Regions from separate parts of the Homo sapiens genome. Here regions 1, 2, 4 and 5 are each linked to region 3. Evidence: promoter capture Hi-C in 16 types of primary human blood cells and fetal thymus (Javierre and others, 2016). All regions are on one chromosome and are shown on one strand. Each heading gives the region's core, a stretch centred on a gene start or on the middle of the fragment in contact. The rest is flanking DNA. Distances are from core to core; before and after follow the strand shown. Region 1 overlaps EFCAB11 (EF-hand calcium binding domain 11). Region 2 overlaps EFCAB11 (EF-hand calcium binding domain 11). Region 3 holds the start of TTC8 (tetratricopeptide repeat domain 8). Region 4 holds the start of NRDE2 (NRDE-2, necessary for RNA interference, domain containing). Region 5 overlaps TDP1 (tyrosyl-DNA phosphodiesterase 1).

The links. The method cuts DNA at HindIII sites, captures the fragments that hold promoters and counts their contacts. A CHiCAGO score of 5 or more calls a contact.
Region 1: a contact is called between a fragment that was not itself captured here and the fragment with the promoter of TTC8 in region 3, in 2 of 17 cell types (monocytes and M1 macrophages). The highest score is 6.5, in monocytes.
Region 2: a contact is called between a fragment that was not itself captured here and the fragment with the promoter of TTC8 in region 3, in 1 of 17 cell types (naive CD4 T cells). The highest score is 5.7, in naive CD4 T cells.
Region 4: the fragment with the promoter of NRDE2 here is called in contact with the fragment with the promoter of TTC8 in region 3 in 2 of 17 cell types (total B cells and non-activated CD4 T cells); the score reaches 7.4 in total B cells.
Region 5: a contact is called between a fragment that was not itself captured here and the fragment with the promoter of TTC8 in region 3, in 4 of 17 cell types (naive B cells, total CD4 T cells, fetal thymus and 1 more). The highest score is 7.3, in naive B cells.

The regions. Positions count from the first base shown.
Region 1 is chr14:89,915,963-89,918,662 of GRCh38, forward strand. The region is part of intron 5 of EFCAB11 (EF-hand calcium binding domain 11); the gene reads right to left. Among named protein-coding and RNA genes, the nearest start is that of EFCAB11, 37 kb to the right of the region's middle. The HindIII fragment of the contact is 4,035 bases long and covers 1-2,700 here.
Region 2 is chr14:89,938,574-89,941,273 of GRCh38, forward strand. All of the region lies in intron 3 of EFCAB11 (EF-hand calcium binding domain 11), which reads right to left. Among named protein-coding and RNA genes, the nearest start is that of EFCAB11, 15 kb to the right of the region's middle. The HindIII fragment of the contact is 1,484 bases long and covers 581-2,064 here.
Region 3 is chr14:88,823,358-88,826,057 of GRCh38, forward strand. It overlaps TTC8 (tetratricopeptide repeat domain 8), which reads left to right and starts at 1,294. Exons shown (of 15, transcript NM_144596.4): 1 at 1,294-1,464. The coding sequence starts at 1,351. RefSeq lists an enhancer at 946-1,305. The HindIII fragment of the contact is 2,519 bases long and covers 524-2,700 here.
Region 4 is chr14:90,330,589-90,333,288 of GRCh38, forward strand. It overlaps NRDE2 (NRDE-2, necessary for RNA interference, domain containing), which reads right to left and starts at 1,353. Exons shown (of 14, transcript NM_017970.4): 1 at 1,253-1,353. The coding sequence starts at 1,316. RefSeq lists an enhancer at 1,107-1,286 and a silencer at 1,437-1,586. The HindIII fragment of the contact is 5,093 bases long and covers 1-2,700 here.
Region 5 is chr14:89,961,798-89,964,497 of GRCh38, forward strand. TDP1 (tyrosyl-DNA phosphodiesterase 1) reads left to right here. Exons shown (of 17, transcript NM_018319.4): 3 at 1,311-1,876. The coding sequence starts at 1,318. Among named protein-coding and RNA genes, the nearest start is that of TDP1, 7.2 kb to the left of the region's middle. RefSeq lists an enhancer at 1,079-2,278. The HindIII fragment of the contact is 1,634 bases long and covers 513-2,146 here.

The DNA.
Region 1 (2,700 bases), core at 68-2,567, 1.1 Mb after region 3:
ATATGCTATCTAGCCATCCTTCCTGTTTAATTGAGCCACACCTAGCAATGGATACCAGTATCAAGAGAGCAGAGCCAAGCCCTTAAGGCACAACTCCGATCTCTGCACAGTGAATCATGAAAATAAATACCCCTGAAGAACAGTCTAATTTTTCCCCCCAAAACAATTTGTGTTTTCTAGGGAGAATGGCTCAGAAAAAAAAAAAAGAAAAAAAGAAAAAAACAACAAATTTGTGGATACAAGTTGTCTATGAGAAGTACATCTAGCTACTTGTGATGATAAATTTGTAACCCACAGAATAAATGGCACCAACTCTATGACAAAACTGGTCATTGAAGAAACTTCTTTACTAGACAATGTGAAAGAGACAGAAAAAAGGAAAGAACCATCCAAAGAATCAAATTTGACTCTGATGGCAGGGTTTGGTTAAAAGCCATCTGACAGAGTTTAAAACTACTGTGACAATTTTGTGATAATAGCAGTTTAAATCGCTATACAAATGTGTACTCAATTCATATTTGTTAAAGCCTCCAAGTCTAAATCTCCAATTGAAAGCCTAGTAAAGAAGACCATTTGAAATAGGCCCAGAAAAAAGTAAGGGCCAGCAGCTGCTCTATCCAATTCAACACATAATTTGAACATGTAAACTTTGATCAGATTAATTCTATTCCTTCGTTCATTTCATTCATTTATTTGTTCATGTATTCGTCAAATACTCTCTCCTGCAAACAGAGTTAAATTTTTACAAGGAGAGAACAAGAGTGAGACCCTCCTGCCCCTTCCTCTCCTTGGACAAGAGTCTTGATATCCCACGGCAAGGATTTCTAATTGAAGTCATGACTGGATTATGAGGAATCCTAACAATAAGACTTGGGTTAAGAAAAGCATTTTTAAACTTTTATTTGTTTCTTATATCCTTTAACATGACTCATGTCATGAGTCTCACTAAGTCTGTGTAGACATTTTTTGAGGTATGACTGACAAAAAATTGTCTATATTTAAGGTATACAAGATGACGTTTTTATAAAAGTATACTTTGTGTAATGACTCACAGTCAAGCTAATTAGCATATCCATCACCTGACATGCTTCGTGTGTGTGTGTGTGTGTGTGTGTGTGTGTGTGTGTGTGTGTGTATGTGTGTGTTGAAAACACTTAAGATCTGCTCCCTTGGCAAATCTGAAGTACACAACACATTAACTATAGTTACCATGCTGTACACTAGATCACTAGAATTCATTCACCCTGTAACTAAAATTTTGTATCCTCTGACCGACATCTCCCCATCTTCCCCACTTCCCAGCCCCTGGCAACTACCATTCCACTCTTTTTCTCCAAGTTTGACTAGTTTAGATGTCACATATAAGTAATATCATGCAATATTTGTCTTTCTGTGTCTGGCTTCTTTCACTTAGCATAATGTCCCCAGATTCCTCCATGCTGTTGCAAATGGCAGGATTTCCTTCTTTTTTAAGGCTGAATAATATTCTGCTGTACACACATACCACAATTTCTTTATCCATTCATCCAGTGGTGGGCACTTAATATGGGTTTCCATATCTCGGCTATTGTGAATAATGCTGCAATTAACATGGGAGTGCAGACATTTTATTCTACCTGTAAATTCAGTCTACTCCATCATTATCATTACTAGGCAGTGGCATTTCTAAACAAGAAAATAACATTTTGAGGTTATGAAAACACTTGACCATTAACAAGTACCAGCAACATGATTATAATCAAATAAAAAATTCTGATTGCCCTAGGGGCTTGGTTCTGTGACTTCTTTGACCAAAAAAATAATAATAATTGCGAATTAGTTGTTTGGTTTGAATTGAGCAATAAAGGACTCTCAGCTTTAACTGTAAAATGGATAGAAATGCCGTTGATGTGGAGAGTCACTGTAAGGACTAAGTAAGGCAACACGTAGTTGGTAATCAATGAACGGGAAGCACTGTGACTGCAGTGGACAATACAGTGCAATGAAAGCTGGGGAAGAGCGAGAATCGAGGACTGGCTCTCCAGGCAGGGTGTGAATGCTGTGAGAAGCTGGCAACAATGAACCCTGAGAAAAAGGACAGGGGACAACTGGAGGTACTTAGTTGGGGAGAGCAGCTTTCTAGGATGGATATGAGTATATCTTCAGGCAGGGATAGGCATTATAAACAGAAGTGGGAATGGCTGATGGAGAAATGTCTTAGATCAAAAAAAGGGGAAGAGAGAAGACCAGAACAAAAGAGAGGAATTAGGAAAAAAAGAAGAGACCCCTTTTCCTCAGAAATAAAATTAAAGGAAGGCTGGGCGTGGTGGCTCACGCCTGTAATCCCAGCACTTTAGGAGGCCAAGGCAGGTGGATCACCTGAGGTCAGGAGTTCCACACCAGCCTGACCAACATGGTGAAACCCCATCTCTACTAAAAATACAAAAATTAGCCGGGCATGGTAGCACACGTCTGTAATCCCAGCTACTTGGGAGGCTGAGGCAGGAGAATCGCTTGAACCCAGGAGGTGGAGGTTGCAGTGAGCCGAGATCACACCACTGCACTCCAGCCTGGGCAACAGAGCGAGACTCCATCTCAAAAAAAAAAAAAGAAGAAGAAGAAGAAAGAAAATTAAAGGAATACAGAAAAGAGATGAAGAGAAGGCAGTAAACCCAGGAAGAGGCCATGATCCTCTCCATGAAGAAAAAGGCAAGATCACCT
Region 2 (2,700 bases), core at 73-2,572, 1.1 Mb after region 3:
CTACCTTAATGGAAGAAATCAAGTTTTACTATATAATTGGAGGGAAAATGAGTAAAAACAGTTAGAGGCCAGGTGTGATGGCTCACATCTGTAATCCCAGCACTTTGGGAGGCCACGGCAGGCAGATCACCTGAGGTCAGGAGTTAAAGACCAGCCTGGCCAACATGGTAAAACCTTGTCTCTACTAAAAACACAAAAACTAGCCAGGTGAGGTGGTGCCGCACCTGTAATCCCAGCTACTCAGGAGGCTGAGGCAGAAGAATCACATGTTCACCTCCAGGCTTGAACCCGGGAGGCAGAGGTTGCAGTGAGCCAAGACCGCGCCACTGCACTCCAGCCTGGGCAACAAGAGCAAAACTCCATTTCAAAAAACAAAACAACAACAACAACAACAAAGCAAAAAAAAAAAAAAAAACCAGTTACAGTAGAATAGAGAAATCTGAACCAATAAAATCTTATTTCTATCAAACCCAGGCAGGAATTGTTACTTTTTTATTATACACATCTCCTGCTCATAAAGCTTAAAAGGTTCCTCAGTGTCAAACACCACAAAGTCCTAATACCTTATTCTGGACTTTAAAGCTTCATCCTTCCTTCCGTGCACACCGGTCCTTAATCCTTCCCAGCTCTCATCATGCCAGCTGACTCGGCTGGACACAATTCATTTATAGTTACATACTATATTCCTTGCTGTTGCAGAGGTTAAAAAAAAAAAGTAAAAATCCAAGAAGAGTAGATTCTGTTAATGGGAGGACTGCATTAACAGCATGATAGCTGATATATTTAGGTATGCAAATCTGAGATGGGCGAGAGATTTGTAAAAGAACAGGGATCTAGGAAGAAAAGATTTCAGGCACTGACGTGGACAGCACAGAAGAGGGTCTCTGAAGAACTCTACACAGAGAGCACAGCACCAGCAACAGGAGCAGGAGGCGGGGCACACAGCTGGCACCTGCCCTGCATTCATTTACCGCCTCTTTTCTCCTTTGCTCCATCACTATTTCAAATCCCACCCATCCTTCAGCATGTCCAGCTCCAGGCCCACACCTCCTCTAGGGGGCAGTGCTGCCCTCCTGAACTCTTATAGGTTTTCTTGCCTATAATAGTAATATAACATCTGGCCGTAAAAGAAGTGGCAATATTTCTTTCATCTTCCCTATCACATAAGATATATACACATTTTTTGATGGAGTCTTGCTCTATCGCCCAGGCTGGAGTGCAGTGGCGGGATCTCAGCTCACTGCAACCTCCGCTTCCCAGGTTCAAGCAATTCTCCTGCCTCAGCCTCTGGAGTAGCTGCAATTACAGGCACCCACCACCACGCCCAGCTAATTTTTGTATTTTTAATAGAGACAGTGTTTCACCATGTTGGCCAGGCTGGTCTTGAACTCCTGACCTCGTGATCCACCTTCCTCGGCCTCCCAAAGTGCTGGGATTACAGGCGTGAGCCACCGTGCCCAGCCCACATAAAATATATATTTTTAAATGTCTTTAGGTCAGTGTCTGTGTCTCCTAATTCTTCCCCATCTGTATAGTGAAACATATTCACTGTTTTCTAAATGGGTAATTAAATAAACATGGATGGGTGAATATCTGTAGGAGATTCCATAAAATGCTACGATTATAATTTCAAAATAAGGTAACCTTAATGTGTATGCAGTTTCCTGATTATAGAAAAGAACTAAGAAGCCAATTGAAATCTGAAATCAACCAAAACCTTCATCCCTGCTATACCCTGATCTTTGTTCCATAGGAGCCAAAATAAAAAACCATACACAACAGCAGGTGTTTTATGACAGAAACTAAGACCAGAAAAAGGATATTTAAATTTAGAAAAATAATACCTTTAATAGTCAACTGTCTTGTTTAGAACAAGCCAGACAAGATATTAATAAATAAAAGCATGCAAGCCAACTGACCATTAACCTACTCATCCACAAATTATTTTTCAATTGGACCTTACACTGGATAGCAGTCACACAGTCCATAATTACTGCTATGATGAATCAATCGCTTTGATTTTTCCATCATTCAAAGTTGAGGGTTAAAAGTAAGTTCCTGGAAAGCTTTTTCAAGTATCAAAGTAGAATATGTTCATTAATTTAAAATGGCAATAGTATAAGGAAACAGAAAAGATGCTCAATCTAATCGCCTAGTGAAAACAAAATTCTGAAGTCCTTTTTTCTGGTTTTTAATCTTAGGCATATTTTACATAGATCCGAGATAATAACAAAGAGACAAATGTATGAGGATTCAGTGGGACAATGCTCATTCAGTTCTTATTTATAGCTTTTAGCATAAAGAAAAGCCCTGTAAATCTTAGCTGTTGTTATTTATATAGAATGATCTACAATTTATTCTGGAATAAAGTCAGACCACCTGAGATATGTATACTTGGAACACACAGCCTTTGCCCTTCATAGAATTGCCCTGACATTAAACACTGGTCTACATTGAGAAAAGATGAAGCAACAGCCTTACAAAATTCACTACTGCATTTATTGAACAGCTCATCGACACTGACATCCACTCAGCAGCCTCCCCTCCATGAGACATCACAGAAGAACTATCCCAGGGCAGGAGGACTTATGCCTCTCTAGAAAAATTGTTTTGTTGCATGGACCCTGACTGCAGCTGTGCTTGCTCGTGTTTTCCTATTTGTTCTGGATGCTAGGTAGTCCAGAACCAAATTTGAAATTA
Region 3 (2,700 bases), core at 44-2,543:
AAATATTGAGCCCAATTGTCAATTGTCGGCATGTGCGTTCTTAAAAATTTGACACTCAGAAACCATGGGCTGCTTCATTAGGACCTTTAGGGAGATTACATTTCTACCGGCAGTTCCAGGAGAACACAAATAGACTAATGACAATACACTTAACTGTAACAATGACAATCCTGATAATTACTGACTTCCAAAATACAACAATTCAAGAAAGACTGCTTAGTAGAGAATAAAAGGTAACAATAAATTTCTTAGTTTAGAAGCATAAGTTTCATTTTAATACCTATGAAAAATATAAATATGTGGATTAAATAGAATGTCTAATGTTTTCTCAGACCCCAGTGGTTTGAGAAAAGCCTACCTGGATTTAGCCGGTCACACCTCTCTTTTCATAACCATTGCAATTTTAAGCATATTTGTCATCTGTGCAAATTTCTAGAGAAAAGTCAGAATTGTGTTTGAAGAAATCACTCTGCACAAGTAAACCCTTGCCAAACAGCAAGTGCCAGGAGACGATGTTTCACAAAGCTTTTAAAAATTATTATTATTATTATTATTATTATTATTTTGCACACATTATCTAGTTTGGTAAAACTGTCACCAATTTACAATCCGGAATCACCATGTGAGTCGAATTAACAAATGTATTAGCAACTTGTAGTCAACCAGATTGCAGTTCCAGCTCCCTAACTCAATGCAATTTTAATAATTTCTCTTCTCTGAGTCTATCTCAGTTTCTCATCTGTAAAATGAGTAAAAGCAAACCACTTGCAGTTCAGATGTTGAGATTCGGTGGGAAGGACCTCGAGAAACAGCGGACAATTTCAGGATTTAGGACTTTAGGTCTTGATGGGTGGATGGTACTGTGGAAGCTGTTTACTTGTTTGTATTTCTAGAATCGGAAGGTAAAGCGAAAGGGATGGAAACGAGCGAATGGAAGAAGTAGGACAGACACCAGACAGAGATCAACTCCAGGGACTCTTCCGGACCTGCAGGGCAGGCAGAGCATTCGGTTGCTAGGCAGCTGCGCCTCCTGGGAGGGTGGGGGACCCCAGGGGCAGGTGTCTAACTCACTACCTTTTTGTTTAGCCGCGGTGCCTTCTTTTCAAAATCAATGAAACCTGTAGCCTTTAAAAGTAGACATCTTTTTCCAACCAAGTTTAGGCAAGCCCTGTAGCCGAGTTCTGCTTGCGGTTGTTTTTCTTTTTCCTGTTCTCAGGCGCGCTGCGGGCACCTCTCGGACAAGGCCCCAGCCGTCGCGGGTTGCCGGGCAGAGTCGGACGCCGCCAGCTCTTCACTCCACGCCCACCTCTCTCCTGGAGCGCTGGGCCTTCGCTGGCCGCACCGGCAGCCATGAGCTCGGAGATGGAGCCGCTGCTCCTGGCCTGGAGCTATTTTAGGCGCAGGAAGTTCCAGCTCTGCGCCGATCTATGCACGCAGATGCTGGAGAAGTCCCCTTATGACCAGGTACCGGCCAGCTCCCGTCAGCCTGTGCATCCTGACGCTGAGGCTGCGGGGTCTGGGGCATATCCCAGCCCCGGGTTGGGAGGCCGGGGAGGAAGGCCCGAGGCGGGGCTGACCGTTCGGCCCTCGGAGGCGCCCGGAGCGAGACCTTGTGGAGCTGTGACTAGCGGGTCCGCTGTCCGCCACGTCCACGGGGATAGCAAGTTCTGTGCCATGACCGCCCCCTCCTCACAATTTTCAGCCTCCCCTCCCCTATACGTGTCCCAGAATGAGAGCCCTGAACTTTACTTGACGAGGAACTTTGATAATTCGTTTATACTTGCATATTGATGGGCTTTAAGCTCTCAGCGTGTGCGTTGTTAATTTCTAAAAAATATGCATAAACAAAGATCTGTGACTCTCCACCTCCTGTTAACATAGCTGCCTTCTTCCTTTTGGATCGAACATGTGATCCTCCCACCTCATCTTTAGACTGTTGTCCAAGAGTGAAGGAGGCCATGAGTTTAGCTTGAGGCAAATATGCAAATTAGAAGAATGAGAATCTAGGAGGGAGAAAGATACATTCATTATTTAAAAAATTACCTAGGCAAGGGAAGCTCTAATTGTAGGAGGGAGAAATGGGAAAGAAAGGCTCCTTACAAGAAGGAATGATGGCATTGATGAAAAGAGAACTTAAACTAGAGTAATGTGTATAGCGAGTGGAAAAGGTAGTATACAATGTACGTGAGCGGTACAATTCTGGTGGGCAGGTGGCTCCTGGAATAGGCAAAAAAGGAGAAAATGGGAGAACAGAAGTAGCGCTGCGGCAGTTTGTCAGTGCTTTTAGTAAGTGCGGAATATACCTACGTAGTTCTAGTTCCCTAGCTTTTCCTCTAGTGGTGTTGCCTTGGAGATGTTAGAAAAAATGGAAAATTGAAGGGAGTTACAAAAGCGGAGGCCTGAGTGTGAATGCTGTTACTAGGCTCTGCCTTAGCTCCCAGCAAATGGATGATGGATGATAACCTGCTGAGATGAACATTTTGTCTTTCAGATAGTACATCTCTCTTAGAACAGCCTACGTTAGTGGTAATACAAAGCTAGGTTCTGTTGTTAGTTCACATTAATTAATAGGACTATATTTCTGTAGACAAGCATTTTTCCAAGGTTTTTTTAAATTTTTTTTATTTTTTTTTATTTTTTTTTGAGACGGAGTCTCGCTCTGTCGCCCAGGCTGGAGTGCAGTGGCACGGCGCGATCTCG
Region 4 (2,700 bases), core at 103-2,602, 1.5 Mb after region 3:
TCGCTTGAGCTCAGGAGTTCGAGACCAGCCTGGTCAACACAGTGAGACCTCGTCTCTACTAAATATTAAAAAAAATTAGCCAGGCCTGGTGGTGCACACCAGTAGTTCCAGCTATTCATGAGGCTGAGGCAGGAAGTTAAGCCCAGGAGTCTGAGGCGGCAGTGAGTTATGACAGTGCCACTGTACTCCAGCCTGGGCAACAGAGTGAGACCCTGTCTCAAAAAAAAAAAAAAAAATTAGGAGAAACGTTACAGAAAGTGTAGGAACTATATTAGAGGATATAACAGACAGGTAAGACTCAATTGCGCCCTGTCACATATGGCACATAATTTAGAATTACTTTTTTTTCTTTTTTTTTTAGAGACAAGGTCCCCCCACCCCAGGGCAGGATGCAGCGGCACGATCATGGCTCACTGCGGCCTCAAACTTCTGGGCTCAAGCAATCCTCCTACCTCAGCCTCCTGAGGAGCTGATACTATAGGTGTGCACCACCACGCCTGGCTTTTTTTTTAAGAGACAGGAGTCTCGCTATGTTGATCATGATGGTCATGAACTCCCGGGCTCAAACTATCCTTCCACCTACAGGTGTGGGCCACTGCTCCTGGCCAGGATTAATTACTTCTTAAATGAACTATGTACCCCAATTTTGAACAATGCAGCTCTGCTGGAAATGTCTGGGACTTAAGTAAAATGTGTAAAGCCATAACCTGATACACACTAGGCCCTCAAGAATAAATGTTAGTTATTTTCACTGGGTGCTGTGCCCCTCCAGAGAGAAACTGATTAGGTTTTGGATACTAATCCCCTAGCTCTAGGCCGCTAAGTAATACCAATCTAATAAGCATTTCAGAAATAAGTATAACAGGAAAGGAAGTAATATGTAATAAAAACATTCTGCATTTGCATCAAGGGTTTCCTCGAGATGTCGAGTATCATTATTCCCAATTTAAAGATGAAGTAACTGAGGCTCGAAAAGAAGAACAGGACCTAACAACATCGTACAGAAGTCCCAGCTCCAGGGCATCTGCTGGTCTTTCTCCACCCCTCCATAACTCTACAACCTTGGTCCAGAACAGGCCTCTGGGCCCCAGACCTCGGAGGGATTGAGCCTTTCCCAGAAGGCTTTGCAGCGCCGCGGAGAACTCTGGGATACAAATGGATACACAAATCCAAAGCAAAAGTCTAGACCTGGGCCCGAGAAACAGCCTCTTAAGCCCCCCAGGTGCCTTCTTCGGCTCGTTTGTGTGCTTACCTTTCCTGGAGCTCCCGCCATCGGGAGCCTCACTAAGCCCCGCAAAGGCTGGGAACAGCGCCATGACCACAGGCCGTACCTCCGTTCTTCTCTATAGGGATGGCGCCGGCGAGCGAGCGCCGGTCTGAGGACCCCTGCCGTCGCGGTGCACTCTGGGAAATGTGGTTTTCGCGGCGCTCTCTGGGGCTTGACCCCGAAGCGGGAGGGGCGGGGCCCAGAGAGGAGGGTCGTCAAGGGACTGGGGCGCGGCGGGGCAGGGAGAGGCAGGGCAAAGCAGGGTGGGGCGGGGCCAAGGGGGGCGGAGCGAGGAGTGACGGGTTCCTAGTGGTTGGGACCCTGTGAGAACCGGAACTGCGAAAACCGGAGAAGGGAATTGTTGACCGCGAAAGGGACTAAGGAAATTGGGATTCCAGTTCGACCCCTAAATTCACACCATCCTTGCTAACTGGGTCAACTTAAACGCTCTAAGCATTACTTTCCTTATCTGCAAAATATTGAGAAGATTAAATGAACATATTTATAAAGGGCCTAGCATTGAGTCCGGCCCATGAAAAGCACTTAATATGTGTTAGCTATTATGTGAATTACGACTGCAAGTTCGGCTCAAAGTCATGTGAGATATCCGAACTTCAATCAGGTTACCATATTAAATACCCCAGAACAAGGAAAAATGGAAAGTCCCATCAAGTTCAAGGGTCTTTGATAGTTAGGAAATACCTGTCTGTGAAGCATTCTTGACCCCGGTTCCTCCCACCCAAAATCTAATCACACTTGCTACCAGAAATATAGAGAGTAAAGGAACAACTTAGAAGACTTTGTACTACCAAGAAACAATTAGCCAAATCTAGAATATGGGAAATTATAGAAAACAACCGTGCTTCCTTAACATATCAAGGGCTTTAAGAGGGCAGGAGATTGTAATAGATACGAAGATCTTACAGACACATCAAGCAAATACAACATATTTGTGGCCTCATTATAATTCTGATTGGACAAACTGTAAAAAGACCTTTTTAAGATAGATGGAGAAATAAGAAGGTAGGCAGAGTACAAGCAATTCACAAGTAATTCTTGTGAATTCTGTTAGATGTACTAAAGTACTTATGTCACTGAGGTGACCCTTATTTATTTATTTTGAGACAAGGTCTCCTTCTGCCACCCAGGCTGGAGTGTAGTGGTACGATCTCTGCTCACTGCAGCTTCGAACTCCTCGATTCAAGCAATCCCCTCACCTCAGCCTCCCAAGTGGCTGGAACCACAGGCATACACCACCATGTCTGGCTTAATTTTTTTTTTTTTAATAGAGACAGGGTTTCACCATGTTGCCCAGGCTGGTCTCGAACTCCTGGGCTCAAGCGATCTGCCCCCCTCTGCCTCCCAAAGTGCTGGGTGCCTGTGCCTGAGCACCCCCCAACCCAGCCTGAGATTACTTTTTAAAGTTCTTATAT
Region 5 (2,700 bases), core at 80-2,579, 1.1 Mb after region 3:
AGGTTTTGTGAAGGGAGTGTCACCATCTTGGTTTACTCCACTCAATGCATCTTTTCCAGCCTCATTAAAACAGCAGAAACTCGAAGATACTGTTGATCTGAGCACAGACTACTGAGTTTTGTAATTTTCCCCTGGGTCTTGTGCTAAAATGTTAAAAGTATCACATTGAGGAACTGTTCTTTAGCTGTCTGGAAAGTCTACTTAGATAGTCCTTTACCACTGAATTGACAAGATTTGGTAGGTAACAGCAAAAGTGACTGTTTCGTGTACTTTCCTGTTCTCAGAACAAGAAAGTAGAATTTGACTGTGGGGCTTAAAAAATAAAAGTGTGTTGCTTCAGTACAAGTTATTTCTGTGTAGGTGTTAGTAGATTTATGATGTAGCCAATAGGATAATTATATCTTGATATAATTATATCCAACTAATTATAATTAGTTGGGTCCTCATGGAAGTAGTGTAAATAATGTACATACCTAAGTGGTCATTTGGCTTTCCTCTTGAAGACTTTGTTAAGCTTTATGGTAAATGGGTTGTCTTTTGGGAAGTAAGACATACATAATCACTGAAGTCCTGTGGGTGCCTGTACTTGGGTGAAGGCTAGGTTTGTAAATTCCAATTTGACCTTAAGCATTTGAACATAGATTAAATGGACCTTAATCCCAAACGCTTATTGGAAGTTTCGGGGTCAAGAATGAATGTTTGTTTTATTTTGGCATTTGTCTTGATGCATTCTTCAACCCCCTTTCCTAGGACATCTAAGAACAAAGTTTAGATTGAAAGCCAAGGCCAGGCATGGTGGCTTATACTTGTAATCCCAGCACTTTGGAAGGCCAAGGTGGGTGGATCTCTTGAGTCCAGGAGTTCAAGGCCAGCCTGGGCAACAATAATGAAACCCTGTCTCTACCAAAAAAAAAGAAAAAAAAAATTAGCCAGACGTGATGGCGTGCACCTGTAGTTCCAGCTATTCGAGAGGATGAGGCAGGAGGATTGCTTGAGCCCAGGAGGCAGATGTTGCAGTCAGCTGAGATTGAACCACTGCACCACTCCAGCTGGGTGACAGAGCGAGACCCTGTTTCAAAAAAAAAAAGGAAGAAAAAAGAAAGGTGACCAGGACTTTTGCTTGTGATTTGGCAGAATCTGATAGTGGATTCTGGTAATGTGCTTATAAACACCCAAAAAGCAGCTGATGTTAGGTGGTTCAGCCTCTGGAAGGTGTCAGCTCATCTGACAGGGAAGTTGAGAGCAATAAAGTTATTTTGCCAATGCCCTGATGAATGGGAAATGCTGATGTTTCCACTTTTCATTTCCAGGAGTATAATGTCTCAGGAAGGCGATTATGGGAGGTGGACCATATCTAGTAGTGATGAAAGTGAGGAAGAAAAGCCAAAACCAGACAAGCCATCTACCTCTTCTCTTCTCTGTGCCAGGCAAGGAGCAGCAAATGAGCCCAGGTACACCTGTTCCGAGGCCCAGAAAGCTGCACACAAGAGGAAAATATCACCTGTGAAATTCAGCAATACAGATTCAGTTTTACCTCCCAAAAGGCAGAAAAGCGGTTCCCAGGAGGACCTCGGCTGGTGTCTGTCCAGCAGTGATGATGAGCTGCAACCAGAAATGCCGCAGAAGCAGGCTGAGAAAGTGGTGATCAAAAAGGAGAAAGACATCTCTGCTCCCAATGACGGCACTGCCCAAAGAACTGAAAATCATGGCGCTCCCGCCTGCCACAGGCTCAAAGAGGAGGAAGACGAGTATGAGACATCAGGGGAGGGCCAGGACATTTGGGACATGCTGGATAAAGGGAACCCCTTCCAGTTTTACCTCACTAGAGTCTCTGGAGTTAAGCCAAAGTATAACTCTGGAGCCCTCCACATCAAGGGTAAGAGGATGCTGGGTGTCAAGGAGCTGTTGAATTGCCCTTGAGAGTCTCTCCTCCGTGAAACAAGGAGGGCAGCCTAGAATAGTTTCTGAGAACTCTTCTTTGTGTTCTTAACTACTTTCAGGAAAAAAATTCTTGACAGGCAAGTGCATTAGTATAACAGCAGACTGTTTACTTAACTCAGGCAGAGCGTGTGTTCTCAAAACCCTGTAGCTCAACCCCTTATATCACTTAGCACGATGTTTAGCATTATTTAACTTTTTAAGATGAAGCTTGATGAGTAACAGTTTATCAACAAGGTAGCAAATACTTGACAACAGTAGTAGTTCTCCATGGGCCCTGGACCAGCAGCCTCAGCATCACCTGCAACTTGTTAAAATGCAAATTCTCGGGCCCCATTCCCGATTCATTAAATTGGACTCTGAGGGTGAGATCCTGCAGTCTGTGTTTTCACGAGCCCTTGAGGGGATTCTACTGCCCAGTCAAGTTTGAGAACCACTGCTTAAAAGCCTGGTTTTAGTTCCTGGTGAAGAAGAAGAAGAAAAAACAAAATAGTGCCTGAGTGCAAATAGATGTTTCAGTTATGGATCAAAAGATGGCCTTAGTTTGCTCTCCTTATTCCTCAGGGAGCACCTGCAGGAGGAAGAGCAGGAGCTCTAGAATCTGCTTTCTGGCCTCACCACTCATTTGCTGTATGGATTGTTAACACAGGACCTAACATTCTCTGAATTTTAGTTTGCTCATCTTTAAACTGGAAATGCAGAAAAATGGGAGCAAATATATGAAGTAACCAGTGTAATATATTCACATGGCAGATACAATAA